Regions from separate parts of the Homo sapiens genome. Here regions 1, 2, 3 and 5 are each linked to region 4. Evidence: promoter capture Hi-C in 16 types of primary human blood cells and fetal thymus (Javierre and others, 2016). All regions are on one chromosome and are shown on one strand. Each heading gives the region's core, a stretch centred on a gene start or on the middle of the fragment in contact. The rest is flanking DNA. Distances are from core to core; before and after follow the strand shown. Region 1 holds the start of SMYD5 (SMYD family member 5). Region 2 overlaps EGR4 (early growth response 4). Region 3 holds the start of ALMS1 (ALMS1 centrosome and basal body associated protein). Region 4 holds the start of MCEE (methylmalonyl-CoA epimerase). Region 5 overlaps CCT7 (chaperonin containing TCP1 subunit 7).

Region 1 (2,700 bases), core at 33-2,532, 2.1 Mb before region 4:
CAGGTAAGGAGACCAGGGATGTAGGGAAGCTGATTTACCAGGGAAGGAGCAAACTGCTCCAGATACCTCTAGAGCAGAAAGGGGGCACGGAAGGTTGAGCTGGAAAACTAGATCAATATGATGACGCTGAGAGCAGACAACAGACAACTAGAGGTCTTACGTCTTGGGCAAGAACCAACCATACACACAGCCACTACACAGGATAAATTATTCAACCTCACTAGTAACCAAAGAAACGTAAATGAGAACAAATATAATTTTACACATATCAATAGGCAAAGATAACTAGGAAAAAAATACTGCTGGACAAAACAAGAGGATGTTTGCACAGAAAATGAGCTCTAAGACTTTTGACTCTGGGGATGAAAAATACCATACAACAATAAAGGGTCCATTAATAAGGGGTTGGTTGAGTGAACTGTGACCCTCTCACGGAAGAAGCTACTACTCAGCTCTTAAAACTTAATATGTAGAAATAGGCTTGATATTGAAAGATTCACTGCTGCATCAAAAAGCAGTTTCTAAAAATGTAATTTTAACGTACTCATCTTTGCACAAGTATAGAAGTATGGGTGATTTTTGTATTTTCTTTCCTTACATGCATTTTGTATTTTTTTCTACAATGAACTTTTGGAACACAATAAAAACGACAAAATCACGTCACCTTCCTGCTAAAAACTCTCCCAATGCCCCCACGGCCTTTGGACTCTGGTCCAAATTCCTCAGCACTCCAAGGACCCTCGTGAAGGATCTTGGCCTCTCTCCTCATCCCCTCACCCAAATCTCACACATGAAGTTCGTGAGGACTCCCTCTTTTACACCTCAGTTCTCTCTGCCCGGCACATCCCCGCCCACCGTTCCAGGGATACAGCAGCAAAGCCCCCTAGCCCCGCCCCGAGCAGCCACAGAAGGGCCTCCCGCGGGCTGGCCGAATTCCGCTGGGAGGAAATGCGCACGGAGACTCCGGAGGCCCGGGTCTATCGCGTGACCGCGCCACGAGCCTGCGCGCAGGGACAGACTGGGAGCCCCCGGGCCGCGAGCAGGGGCAGGGCCGTAGCGTCCGAGCGGCACAGAAGCCTCTGGGCTCCGGGCATGGAGTCCGGCCGGGCTGTCTCCATGGCCGGACTGGGGAGAGGCTCCCGGCAGGACCCGCCCCGACCTCACCTTGGCGCTGCTCACGAAACGGACTTCCACGGAGACCCGCGCGCGGCCCGCCACGCCCACGCAGAAGGAGAACACGTCGCACATGGAGGCCGCCATCTTGGGCGCGCCTCCGCCTTATGACCCTTAACCCCGCCTCGACCTGAGAGGCCACACCCCCTTCTGGTCCCGCCCCCGGCGAGAGTGCCCCTGAGGCTGCGAGGTTTTGGGCTCCACCAAGTCTGAATTTAGGTTCCGTGGTTTGTTGACGGGAGTGTAACTGGGCCTGCCTTTGTGCTTTTACATCGGTGCCTTTTTGTGTCTGTACCTCTGTATCAGAGTCTGTGTGCGCGTACAGTTTTGATGTGTGTATCTTTGAGTCCGTTGCATGTTTTGTTGTGGTTTTTTTTTTTTGAGATAGTCTCACTCTGTCGCCCAGGCTGGTGTGCAGTGGCGCGATCTCGGCTCAGTGCAACCTCTGCCTCCCAGGTTCAAGTGATTCATTCTCCTGCCTCAGCCTCCCGAGTAGCTGGGCGTACAGGCGTGCGCCACTAAGCCCAGCTAATTTTTGTATTTTTAGGGGTTTCACCATGTTGGCCAGGCTGGTCTCGAACTCCTGACCTCAAGTGATCCGCCCGCCTCGACCTCCTAAAGTGTTGGGATTACAGGCGTGAGCCACCTCGCCCGGCCTCCGATGCATGTTTCTATGTATGTTGTCTCTGTCCACACAGTGGCCTGTCTTCACTGAGTAAAGCGCTCTTTGGACCCAGCCCTAGAGTGGGACAGCAGAAGGCCAACTTACTCCTATCCTGTCTAGCTCTCAGCCTGAAGGGAAGGACTAGCTTATACCCCGGAGCTCACTCACCCCACTTGAAGAGTCCAGGACAAGATTTCCTTTCTCGGTAATCCCTCTGGCAGCAGAACAGTCCTGCCAAAGGTCAGGGTGGACTTGTGCCTCTGTCAGATTCTTCAATGGCTTAGGGACCTTGCAACCGGGGGTAGCGGAGGAGTCCATAGGGGACCTCAGATCTGAGAACCTCTGAAACTGGATACAGAAGTGAGTGTGCATATGCACACACTGTCGTGAAAAGGGGGAGGGGCCTGTTCTCTCAGGACCCCAAGAAGCTGCAAACCACAGACCTATGGCATTTGTCCCCACAGCTAGGCCTGACTATCAAGCCTTGTTTTGTTTCCTTGTCCCCTGATTTTGTGAGTTTTGTTTGAGACAGGGTCTCGCTTTGTCGCCCATACTGGCATGGGGCGATCTCGGCTCACGGCAGCCTCCAGCTCCCGGGCTCAAGAACAGACTGGGCAACGTAGTGAGACCTTGTCTCTCCAAAAAATAGAAAAATTTGCCGGGCGTGGTGATGCGTGGGAGGATCACCTGAACCTGGGGAGGTCTAGACTGCAATGAGCCGTGATCAAGCCACAATTATCTATCAAATAATTATAGATAGATAGATAGTTGGCAGGGACAGAGAAAGGTTCTTGAAACTGACCCTGCCTCTCCTCAAGCTTGCAACCTGGTGTCAAGGAGCGAATAGTCCACGGACTTGGGGG
Region 2 (2,720 bases), core at 174-2,673, 2.2 Mb before region 4:
CTTTCCCCCAGGCCAAGGCGCGACGCAAGGGGCGCCGCGGCGGCAAATGCAGCACGCGCTGCTTCTGCCCGCGGCCGCACGCCAAGGCCTTCGCTTGCCCGGTGGAGAGTTGTGTGCGGAGCTTTGCGCGCTCCGACGAGCTCAATCGCCACCTGCGCATCCACACGGGCCACAAACCCTTCCAGTGCCGCATCTGCCTCCGCAACTTCAGCCGCAGCGACCACCTCACCACGCACGTGCGCACCCACACCGGCGAGAAGCCTTTTGCTTGCGACGTGTGCGGCCGCCGCTTCGCGCGCAGCGATGAGAAGAAACGGCACAGCAAGGTGCACCTCAAGCAGAAGGCGCGCGCCGAGGAGCGGCTCAAGGGCCTCGGCTTTTACTCGCTGGGCCTCTCCTTCGCTTCTCTCTGAGCAAGAGATGGGTTTATGGGTTGGGGCGCCGCCGTTCGGCGCGCACGAGTTCCGGGCCGTTCCCCTCCCCGCTCTTCTTCCAACTCCTCCTCGCACGCCCGAGGGCCGGCCTCCGGTCCCGCTTCCAGTTTCCTTGAAGCGCCCGCCGCACACGCCCTATTCAGCACCAGCTCCGCGGACAGTTCCCGCGGTCCAGGCGCTGTCACCCTTGTCAGCCGCGCTTTGGGGGAAGTCTTCTGAGACCACCCAGTGAATAGGCACTACCCTGGGATTCAAGACAGTCTTTTGTAACTGGCACACGCCCCACGCCTTCCTCTATAACCCCCAGAGACAGGCTGGGGCAGCGCCAAGGCGGTCTCGCGCGGGACTTTGTACAGCAGTGTCTTATCCAGCAGCCATTGGATGTAACGTTTTGCTTTGGGTTTTTTTTCCTTTTGTTGTTGTTAATTTTTGTAAAGCAGACGCTACTCTCAAGCAGTTGACAAAACTGTTTATTTTTGCAATTAAAATTATTGTGCTAAAAGCTTACTGAATCTGCCATGTAAGCTCCTGACCCTTCCCCTTAGCTTCTCCCCCAGGACCATATGTGCCAGAAGATAAAGGAGATCCCCACGCTCATGGGATACAGACCCTGAACATATTACACACCCACTGTCAGGCACACCTGCCAGGAACTGCGGCACAGAGTAGGCATTCAGTAAATGTGTGTTGGGTTAATGAACGAATTTAATCACAGCTCACCTAAGGGCTGGAGGTGTTTCTGGAACTTCAAAGTGGTTAAAAGGCGTAGGTGTTCAACATTATGTATATATTATTCTCCTTAATCCTCGCATTCCCAAATAAAGCAGGCATATACCTCATTTCAAAGATGTGGAAGCAATGTAGATAGCTTGCTGGAACAATGTAGTTAACCCAGGCTAGGAACAGACAGGTCAAACAAATCTGTCCAACTTCAAAGCCAACCCTCATTTTCCAACCCCAGAATGGAGACACCTAAACTTAATAGCACTGATTGGAAAGGCTTCCTACCAGAAGGTGAGAAACAGGTTTGGCAGCTAGAGGGAGCTCCAGGCAGTAGCGACAACAGCAAAAGGCTGCAGTATTTTGGTGCTGTTTGTGAAAGCCCAGAGTGTTCAGTGTCACAGAGGCTCCAGACAGTATCTATGCATCTGTTCAAGAGTCACATGATGTCAGGACCCAAAGGGTCTCAGCATTTAGCTAGAGCACACCTGAATATAGCTGGGAGCAGGCACTTGCCAGAGACTGATGGTCACCTTAGTTGCTCTTCCCACAAAAAGGATCTTCTCCAGGTGGCATCAGCCTACTTACCATTCAGCCATGCGCCTGCCACAGCCACTTTTCTCCAGCTGTCCTTCCAAGTGAACTCTTCATGGCTTTGGGATCAGAGGAAGGCTAGGAGGGTGATGAGGAAAGCATGACCTTGTAATGGTGAAGGTGGCCCCTTTTTACTCTTTGAACTCCCCACCCAAAGCTTTTCCACTCTTTCTGGCCACCTTGGGCAGACCTTGGAGCATAAAAAGGCCGCTGTGCTCTCCATCTCTCTGCTCCAATGACCCCTCTCTGATAAGGAAGAAAGAAGGCCTGTGTCTGAGGACTTCATTGTTTTCTCTTCTGAGCTGAGCTGTTCTTGAATTAAGAGACCTTACAGCCCTATGATGCCAGATCAAACCAGCTTCTGATACTCTTGCTGCTTTCTTCACTCCTTCACTCTAAGATATGCTCACCCTCCACCCCACAGTCCAGCTGACCAGAGACAAAATGATCAACTCAGAGAATTCCATCCTTTTCTCTCCCTAGGTTTTAAGTGCTTTCATGTGGCCAAGTATCTTGTATCTAAGAAACTAATTTGTGGTAAAGGATTTAATATTACCTCTTCTAGGAGAATTAACATTTTAGAACAGTAGCCTGCAGAGGGCAATGTTTAACCCAATGAAGAGGCTCAAATTGTGGACTGTCAGGCACTGTGATAAGTGGTAGATTCATGGAGACACAAGATAATCATGACCCTCATTGTCTTACTATTTAAGTCACCACACCTTTCACTTATTAGGCATGGGCCACCTGACTTCACTTTTCATGAAGAGTAGGGCAAGAAAAGCATAATGGCCCATATTTCAAGCAACTGGTCCCAAAACACACAAGCTGAACAAAGGAGGAAACGCAGACAGTGGGTGGCTGGCCTCTGATCACCCCTATCTTGCCCTCTCCAGCAGCATTCCAGCAAGTGCCATCAGCTCTATTATTCTTATCCTCACACCCACCTAGGCCTAACATCACTGATGAGAA
Region 3 (2,790 bases), core at 268-2,767, 2.3 Mb before region 4:
TGTGATCATCTGAAATCTGTCTGCCTCCCTGTCTAGACCATGAACACAAGGAAGGCAGAGACCAAAAATGTTTGGGTTCACCAAGCTTTCCTTAGCACCCAGCACAATGTGTGGCACATGGTGAATTCTAATAATACATGTTCAATGAATTAAGTACCCCCTGGAATATTCACCAGACAAAACAACAACTACTGCTCATTAGTGACAAAACTCTACACCTTCACTGTCTGTGATGATGGAACTGTTCCATTATCTGCTCTGTCCAACATGGTAGCCACTAGCCTAGTGTGGCTGCTGAGCACTTGAAAACCGGTAAGAACAGACGCATGGAATTTTTCATTTAATTTATTTTTAACTCTTACTCAAAACTATAATAGTTTTCTCTTTAAGATGTAAAAAGCCACACGTGGCCAGTGGCTACTGTACTGAGCAGGGCAGGTCTTGCTCCTCGAAAAGCAGTAAGTTAAAAAAAGGGGGGTAAGGGCAGCAAATTAAATGGAGAGTTATTTTCAAAATGATCTTCGGGGGTCTACCATGAAATCGGCTTTCTCCATTGTGTATTATCTGTGCTTTGTAGTTTTGCAGACTGTTTGGAGCCGCATCACAAGCCTCCTGCATTCCAAGCCCCTCCTATCGGCTGGGGAACCCCTTTATTGCTACAAATGATGGTCCAGGGGAGGAAAACCCGCGGGGAGCCTCTCCAGACTAAGTGATCGCGCGGTGTACATTATCCACATTACTCCCTCAGGGGAGTCCTGCAATTCAGTCAAGCTCATCTGTTCACTGTCTCCCCAACAAGATGCTCCCCAGGCAACCACTCGCTCCGGTCCTACACCGCCTTTTCCCTCCTTCAAGGCTCGACACACCCGTGGTCCTCTCTCAGCGTTTCTCACGGGGAATGCAGGCTCCCCTGAACGTCTACGGGAGTTCAAAAGGCCCAGGACCCACCGAGGGGGAGGAAACGAGAAGTCTTTGCCACAAAGCCTGGGAGACGCGGAGCAGCCGGCCGGCACCTGGGCTGGAGTCTGGGCCGCCTACTAGCCTCAGCTGCGCGCGTTTTCTCCGTCAGGCGGCGTGACCTGCGGGCGGGCGGAGCGCTCGGGGCCCAGCCTCCACCCCCAACTCGCCGCGGCTCCACACCCCTCCCCGGCCCGCCTCACCTTCTCCAGGGAGGTCCGCTCGCCCTCCGAGTAGCGGTGCTGCGGGGGCGACAGCGGAGGCAAAATCCTGCCGGGGTGCGCCTGCAGCCAGGCCTTGGCCTCCTCGTCCTCCTCGTCGTCTATACTTTCCAGATGCTGGGGCCCGTAGTGAGAGTCGGAGTCCAACTCCCGCCCCGCCTCTTCCTCCACCTCCTCCACGACCACTACGTCGTCCACGTTCGCCGCCGCCGCCGCTGCAGCCTCCTCCTCTTCCTCCTCCTCCTCCTCCTCCTCCTCCTCCTCCTCCTCCAGCTCGCCCGGCCATGGCAGATCCTCGGGCTCCATGTTGGTGTCTCGCTCTGGGCGGCAGAGGAGGAGGAGGAGGGGGGGAGGGAGGGGAAGGGGAGAGCCCTGACTGGCGGTTGTGGCCCAGCTTAGGCGCAGTGCCGCCCGCCTGGGCGGGGCCGGAAGACCGCGCGCGCGTTGCTAGGGACGCCGCGCGAGGCCCGGCGGGAACGCCTTAGGGCGGAGGTTTGCTACAGGCGACGTTGCCGCCTCGCCGCCGTCACCGGCCGGGACCTTGCGAACTGTACTGTAAGCTCACAATAAACCGGGACTGGGCGCCTTCCGGGGCGCAGAGGGCCCCGCGCAAGGACAGTGTAGTTCTCGGCTGGGGTCGAGTTTCGCCCCTGCACAGAGAAGAGATCAAACTCTAGGACGTACCCGTTATAATCACACATGCAAATTATAAAGTTTTAAAGGTTGAGTATCTCCTAAAGTGTCAAGCTGTATGGTGGGCGCTTGAACCTAACCGTGGAAAAGTGTCACGGGTTGTTAGAGGGATTAAGAACTGGGCACTGGCATCAGAAAGATCGGAGTTTGAATCCTGGCATCACCACTTAAAGTGGTGTGACTTTGTGTTTATAAAACGATGATAATAGGCCATCGCATAGGATGGGTGTGATAATTAAAGGAAATAATCAATGTGAAGGACTTAGTGATAGGTTGGTTATTGTACAATAACTCATTAGATGCTCACGGTTCTGTGAGACAAGTATTACTATTTCATGTATGAAGAATCTGAGGCTAAAAAAATTAATTTGCCCAAAGTTTCTTACCTAGTAAGTGGCTGACTCAGTATGCCATCCCAGGTCCTCTGTTAGTGTAGGAATTGCCCTGGCCTAGACCAACCAGCTGTTAAAGGATAACAGAGCAAATATTTATACTGATAGTACATATGTTTTGGTGGTTCGTCAATGACTTTGGAGTGCTTTAAAAACAAAGATTTCCTGACCGCTTCAGGAACCTCTACGAAATGAATGGCAAATTAAAGTATCTTAAGATGCCATGTAACCAGACACCACCTGTACCCCCAATAACCTATGGGGAAAATTTTTAAATTAAAATTTTAAATAATAATTATAATCTTGAGATGCTTCACTGTTACCAAAGGAAATAGCCATAATTAAAGTGGAGTCCAGCAAAAAGTCTTCATGGTATTACCCACAATAGTAGAGATACATTGATAATGATGCTGAACCAATGTTGGTGGGGCAATTTTAGGGTTATTGCCAAGGATGTATGTCCTGCCTACCTGTCAATGACCCAATCCTGGCAAAACTTTAAGGGTAGAACATGAACTGGAGCCCAG
Region 4 (2,700 bases), core at 105-2,604:
ACTTGCACCCAAGTGAATAAACAGCCTTGTGGCTCACACAAAGCCTGTTTTAGTGGTCTCTTCACACAGACGCGCTTGACAGGTGTAGCATGGGAAAAGGACTTCAGGGGATGGCAGAGTATAGGTGGGTAGAAACAACAATTCTATTAAACAGACACAACAGCTCTATTTTGGACGCAGTGAATTTGAGATGCTTGACAGTACCAAAATTTTAAAAATCGTTAAAAGTTGTACAGTGTGGATATCCCAGTTGTGTGCTACGGAATTCAAACTAAGCTCAGTCTGTAGTTGCTGTGAGCTGGGAACTCAGGGAAAGGTTGGGGTTTGAAACATAAATGAGTAATAATTTCATAGATCACATTTTAAATTCTTCAACAAAATACATATAAAACGCTTGTGTTGGGAAGAGACATGGAAGTTCTATTTCTGAAGAAGCTTAGTCATGGGGGGTGGACAGACAAGTGACAAGTTCGTACTTTCAATAAAGTATGCTAAGCGCTAAGTGCTTTGAGAGCACATAGGAGGAAGGAGAAACCAACAGTCTGTGTGTAGAGGGATGGGGGCGTAAGAAGCCCAAGGGAAGCTTCTAGGTGTTAACAATTGAGGTTAGAGTGATTTCAGTAACACTCAACTGAGAGATCCATCTATACAAATTTTAACAGTTTTTAAAATTTTGATAGCCTAGGAAAGCATAAACTCTGAAATTTGGGGAAAAGCGATTTTACGTTTCCCCTTACCTTCCCCCAGCTCCACAATTTGCCGGAGGCCTGCAACCCGCGTCCACGTGAGACCCCGGTCGCACCCCGAGCCCGGGATCTGCGCACTTACGTGAGGAAGCACTCGGGCCGACCCGTGGCTTTGCCGACTTCCGTCAGACACCGCTCCAGGGTCCGTCGACGCCAGACCTGCGGCGCCATGGCTGTCAGCAACTCCCGACACAATGCAGCATGCAAGGGAAGGGAGCCGCCCGGAAACCGCGCGGCAAAGATGCGCCCAGCGCAACTTGGATTTCAGAGCCGAAAGTTCCGCGGCGCACAGGTTCCGGACTCGCCCTCAGCCAGAGCCAATGGCAGCGCGAGCGCTTTCGCAGGAGGGTGGGAAACAAAAATCTCCATGGTCAGCCCAAACGCCTTTCAACTCTCTCCAAACTTCGTTTTGTATTTTTCAGGGGCCCACAAAGGGTGACCCGTCCTGGCCTTACGTTTCTGTTTTAGCTAAAGTAGGCCCGTTGTAGCAGGAAAGCAGCGACCTTCGCCACGCCCCTGACCTTTCTGTCCCCGCCCCCTCTGCCTCCCGCCCCGCCCTCTGCCGCGCGTCTCTCAACCTCCGTGGCTAGTCTTGACGTGGCGGGTTGCTTTCCAAAATGGCGCGGGTGCTGAAGGCTGCAGCCGCGAATGCCGTAGGTGAATACCGGGCACCGGCGACCTTCGCCATGGGACAGGGAGCGTGGGAACGGCGGTCGGGGGCGGAGGAGGCCTCGGCGTGGCCAAAGCACCTTGATCTAATGTCCTCCCCCGGGGGCGCGTTCCACAGCAGCTGCTGTCACTTAGGCAGAGGGTGCCTTCCAGAAGCGCCACCGCTTAGTAGCGGGGATTGCCTTGTGCATGAGTCCCATTTCCATCCGAGAGCTGTGCGCCTTGGGCTCTGCACCTTCCAGTATGTGGGCGGGAGAGTCGAGGGAACTTGCCCGGCAGGTCAGGCAGGGCAGGGACAGAAGTAAATAGAAGCGGATCGGTAAGTTATTTTACCGCGCACCAATAAAGAGACTGGGGAGAAACCAGAAAGGAGAGCACGTTCCGTAAAAACAACAACTACTAGTCGGCCGAACTCCAAGCGTGACCAGCTTTCTGTTGGGAACACTCAAAGGTCAGTGGTGTAAAGAATACAAAAGGAGTGGTTTTTCCACGTGCACTAATATATTTATCGCGTACACAGATAAAAGCATGTGGATTTGGAAACTTTCTTGAGTTCTCTCCCCCTTCATTTTTTTTAAAATATGTACATAGAATCAGTTATGACAGAAATAACTGTAATAATTGTCACGTTTTCTGACTCACTTTCTCCTCTTTTTATCCTTTTTTTTTTTCTCTTCCTCCTTTTATGAGAGGGCAAGTATTTCCCTTAATCTGAGATTCCCTATTAGGAAGAAGGTGCCAAGTGGTAATGCCCCAGAGTTACTCCGGGACATTCGTGATAAATCCTTCTAGCACCAGAGCCCACATTCTTAACCGTAAGGCATACCTTCCTCTTAGGTGATACACAAGATAGGAACGTAAAACTATAAATAAATGAATATTTGGGAAAAGGCATTTTTATGTCTATTTTTAGAACTGCACACTTTAATGATTGACAGTTTGGGAAAAAGTATGACTTCCAACAGGTCATATACATACTGCAAGAACTCAATACAGATAAAGGTGCATGTTTGTTTTGTACTTACATACACATCTTGGCATAAAGGAAAAATGAAGACAGTGTATTCCAAAGATTGCCTTTGATTTGTCCTATTAAGATACTTGAAGCTTAATGTCTCCACTTGTGTGTGTGTGTGTGTGGTTGAATATACATAAAGTAAAATTTACCTTTTTTTTTTTTTTTGAGACAGAGTCTCACTCTGTCGCCCAGGCTGGAGTGCAGTGGCGTTAGCTCACTGCAACCTCTGCCTCCCAGGTTCAAGCCATTCTTCCGCCTCAGCCTCCC
Region 5 (2,747 bases), core at 108-2,607, 2.1 Mb before region 4:
ATAGTCCCACACGGGCTCAGCAGTCAGGACAATATAAGAATTGGAACTGCTTCAGAGTGAGTCATCTTTCAACGATCTTAAAAGCAGTGGGATTTCTGATACCAACCTATGCTAGTCCCAAACACCCCCTCAGGAGCCTCCTTTCCTGCACACAGGCCTGAGGAACTCTGTAGACTTACCTCTGCCATCTACAATAAGCTTGTCCATGCCACGGGGACCCAGGGTAGTTCTTACAGCCTCAGCAATCACCTGGCAGGCACTGATGTTACTCACAAGCTGGGGGATGCCTTGGGAGCTATCAGTCCCCTCTTTCAATAGGATAACTGGTGTGGGCTAGAAAAGAAAGAAATTAACTGCTTTTAATAATCATCTATTATAATGAGACTGGCAGGGGAAAGGGGAAAATGCTCCCATCTCTCCCTTAACAGAATTATCTAGAGGTCTTCTTAAACCACATTCCCCCAACTGTCTACCACATCCATTCCCCAACCAGCCTCTACCTCCAGAGACACTATCAAATTTAGCCTACCCTGCAGGTATGCTAGACAGGAAAATGGTTTGAGAAGCACTGACCTAATCTAAAAGAAAAAATCATGAGTTCTCCAGTACCCAGCTGAATGACCATGGCCTTTTCAACTTCTGACCTTACTCCCTGTGCTGAGGAATTGGGTCACAACACAGGAGGAAGAGGCAGACCCTGCTAAGTGTTCATTCCGCAGCAAAACATCCACTTGTCTGTGTTACAGCTCAATCTTAGAGAAGCAGATGGGACACTGATGCAAAATGCAAGATGCCAAGAGCTTGAGGTGTTGTCCTAGAGATGCCTAGGCAGTCAGCTTTATGTAACAGTGATGTTCAGCTGCAGTGTAGGAAAACAGGCAGAGAAACAAACAGCACCTTTGCCCTGTTTTGAAAAATGATGGCAAATCTAATTCATACAGCAATGTTTCCATCTCTCATGCTGGCTGAATAAAGCTTCTGTGTGACTAATTTCCAATCAGATACCCCAAAGAAGTTTTCCTCTTTCTATATTGCATTGGTCTCCAGAACATTCCCTATCCCCGTAAGGGCTTCATTTGCAGACCTGCTTTAGAAACTGAGAAACAGGGATACTTGCTTGTTTTAAAGGGCCCGCTCAGATATCTTTGCTCTAGTGACCACCATTATTAGCAGAGAGAGCAATTTCTCAGCTTAGCAAACCAGACTACTTTCTCTCCACATTCAAATCTGAGCCTTCAGAGATAAGCCCACGAACTAGATCCAGTCTTCTCAAGTGTTTCTGGCTAATTTTGTGTGTGACACAGAATGTAGTAAGGATAAATACTATTTCAAAACTTTTATTGTGTTAAATTTGTTACTAGGCTATGATTAAAAATGTATTTCTTACTGTGGAATGCAATAAAAAGTTTGAAAGCCATCACCTAGTCCTTAGAGGTACGTGGATGTCTGAGCAAGGAAGGCACAGGAAAGCACAGAGCTTTCCCAACCTAACAATGAGGAGTGAGGAATTCCTGCCAAAGACAGAGTCTTGCCACTCATGAGGCTGATTCCTTATTAACTGGTCAATTCCTTAAAAAGTTCAACTCTTTTGGCCAGCGCAGCTGGAGGGTAGTAAGCAAGAGGAAGACTGGAATAAAGCTGAAGAGGCAGGCAGGAACCAGATCACATACACACTCGTAGACACACTATGGTGAGGAGTTCAGATTTCATTCCTAAAAAGGAAAGCCCTGGGAAGCTTTCAGCAGAGGAATGGCATACTGTGATTTACATAAAAAACAAAAACCACTGTAGAAAAAAGAGGATCACTTGAGCTCATGGAGTTCAAGACCAGCCTGGGGAACATGGCAAGACCCTGTCTCTACAAAAAGAAAACGAAAAATACCCAATAAACTCTACGGAATAAGAGAGTGGGAGTAATTTAATATATTATTCATTTTTTAATATATATTTCTAAGAGACAGGGTCTTGCTCCACCACCCATGCTGGAGTGCAGTGGTGAGATCATAGCTTACTATAAGCTCAAGCCTCCTGAGTAGCTGGACCGCAATGCATGAGGTACCACACCTGGCTAATTTTTTAAATTTGTATTTAAAAAATGTTGCCCAGGCTGGTCTCCAACTCCTGGCCTCTAACAACCCTCCTGCCTCAGCCTTCTGAAGTGCTAGGATTACAGGCATGAGGCACCATGCCAGGCCCTCATTAAATTTTTTTAAATGCTTGTCAAATAATCATACATTACTCCTTTTATTTTTTATTTTAAAAAGAATGCTTGTCATGTAAACCCCTACATTTGGGATCAGGCGTCAACTGAAGGGAAAATTCCTTCCTTTTGCTGGAGTGTCCCAGGTCTGGTGGCAAGAAATGGCTTCTCTATACTCCCAGCATTCTTTCTGGCTCTTCAGCTGGCCCAGTCCCTGGCACCTTCTGTAAGGGAAAGATGTGTGTCCTGAAAGGCCCTACCATCTCCCAGTCTTGCTAAATCATTCCTTATGGCAGCCCCAAGTCTTCTCTGGTCCACCCCTGCCACGGATGGAGTCTTACACTTTAAATCAAAAACTAACATGAGTCTCAATCACTTCCTATCACCTTCAACAGGTTCTTTCACCTCAACAGGTTAACTTACCCAATGCTTGTGTATACTTTTTCTCACCTCAACCTGCAAAGTGTACCCCCATCTAAAATAGTCACTCTGCCATCTTCTACCAAAACCACTTTCTCACCACCAGGCCACCAATTCCTCAGAGCTC

The links. The method cuts DNA at HindIII sites, captures the fragments that hold promoters and counts their contacts. A CHiCAGO score of 5 or more calls a contact.
Region 1: the fragment with the promoter of SMYD5 here is called in contact with the fragment with the promoter of MCEE in region 4 in 1 of 17 cell types (total B cells); the score reaches 5.2 in total B cells.
Region 2: a fragment that was not itself captured here is called in contact with the fragment with the promoter of MCEE in region 4 in 1 of 17 cell types (naive CD8 T cells); the score reaches 6.0 in naive CD8 T cells.
Region 3: the fragment with the promoter of ALMS1 here is called in contact with the fragment with the promoter of MCEE in region 4 in 6 of 17 cell types (fetal thymus, total CD8 T cells, total B cells and 3 more); the score reaches 8.5 in fetal thymus.
Region 5: a contact is called between a fragment that was not itself captured here and the fragment with the promoter of MCEE in region 4, in 1 of 17 cell types (total CD8 T cells). The highest score is 6.3, in total CD8 T cells.

Annotation. Positions count from the first base shown.
Region 1 is chr2:73,212,827-73,215,526 of GRCh38, reverse strand. SMYD5 (SMYD family member 5) reads right to left here and starts at 1,282. Exons shown (of 13, transcript NM_006062.3): 1 at 1,165-1,282. The coding sequence starts at 1,260. RefSeq lists enhancers at 1,105-1,344, 1,132-1,426. The HindIII fragment of the contact is 7,894 bases long and covers 1-2,657 here.
Region 2 is chr2:73,289,150-73,291,869 of GRCh38, reverse strand. It overlaps EGR4 (early growth response 4), which reads left to right. Exons shown (of 2, transcript NM_001965.4): 2 at 1-941. The coding sequence ends at 413. Among named protein-coding and RNA genes, the nearest start is that of EGR4, 3.0 kb to the left of the region's middle. RefSeq lists an enhancer at 36-731. The HindIII fragment of the contact is 968 bases long and covers 940-1,907 here.
Region 3 is chr2:73,384,563-73,387,352 of GRCh38, reverse strand. ALMS1 (ALMS1 centrosome and basal body associated protein) reads right to left here and starts at 1,517. Exons shown (of 23, transcript NM_001378454.1): 1 at 1,161-1,517. The coding sequence starts at 1,484. LOC105374804 (a long non-coding RNA gene) reads left to right here and starts at 1,672. Exons shown (of 4, transcript XR_007087053.1): 1 at 1,672-1,900. RefSeq lists enhancers at 729-968, 1,009-1,758 and silencers at 1,029-1,198, 1,359-1,758. The HindIII fragment of the contact is 2,912 bases long and covers 88-2,790 here.
Region 4 is chr2:71,128,883-71,131,582 of GRCh38, reverse strand. It overlaps MCEE (methylmalonyl-CoA epimerase), which reads left to right and starts at 1,354. Exons shown (of 3, transcript NM_032601.4): 1 at 1,354-1,403. The coding sequence starts at 1,364. MPHOSPH10 (M-phase phosphoprotein 10) reads right to left here and starts at 949. Exons shown (of 11, transcript NM_005791.3): 1 at 829-949. The coding sequence starts at 917. RefSeq lists enhancers at 752-801, 902-951, 1,273-2,131. The HindIII fragment of the contact is 1,939 bases long and covers 586-2,524 here.
Region 5 is chr2:73,237,229-73,239,975 of GRCh38, reverse strand. CCT7 (chaperonin containing TCP1 subunit 7) reads right to left here. Exons shown (of 12, transcript NM_006429.4): 2 at 180-333. Among named protein-coding and RNA genes, the nearest start is that of CCT7, 4.3 kb to the right of the region's middle. The HindIII fragment of the contact is 760 bases long and covers 978-1,737 here.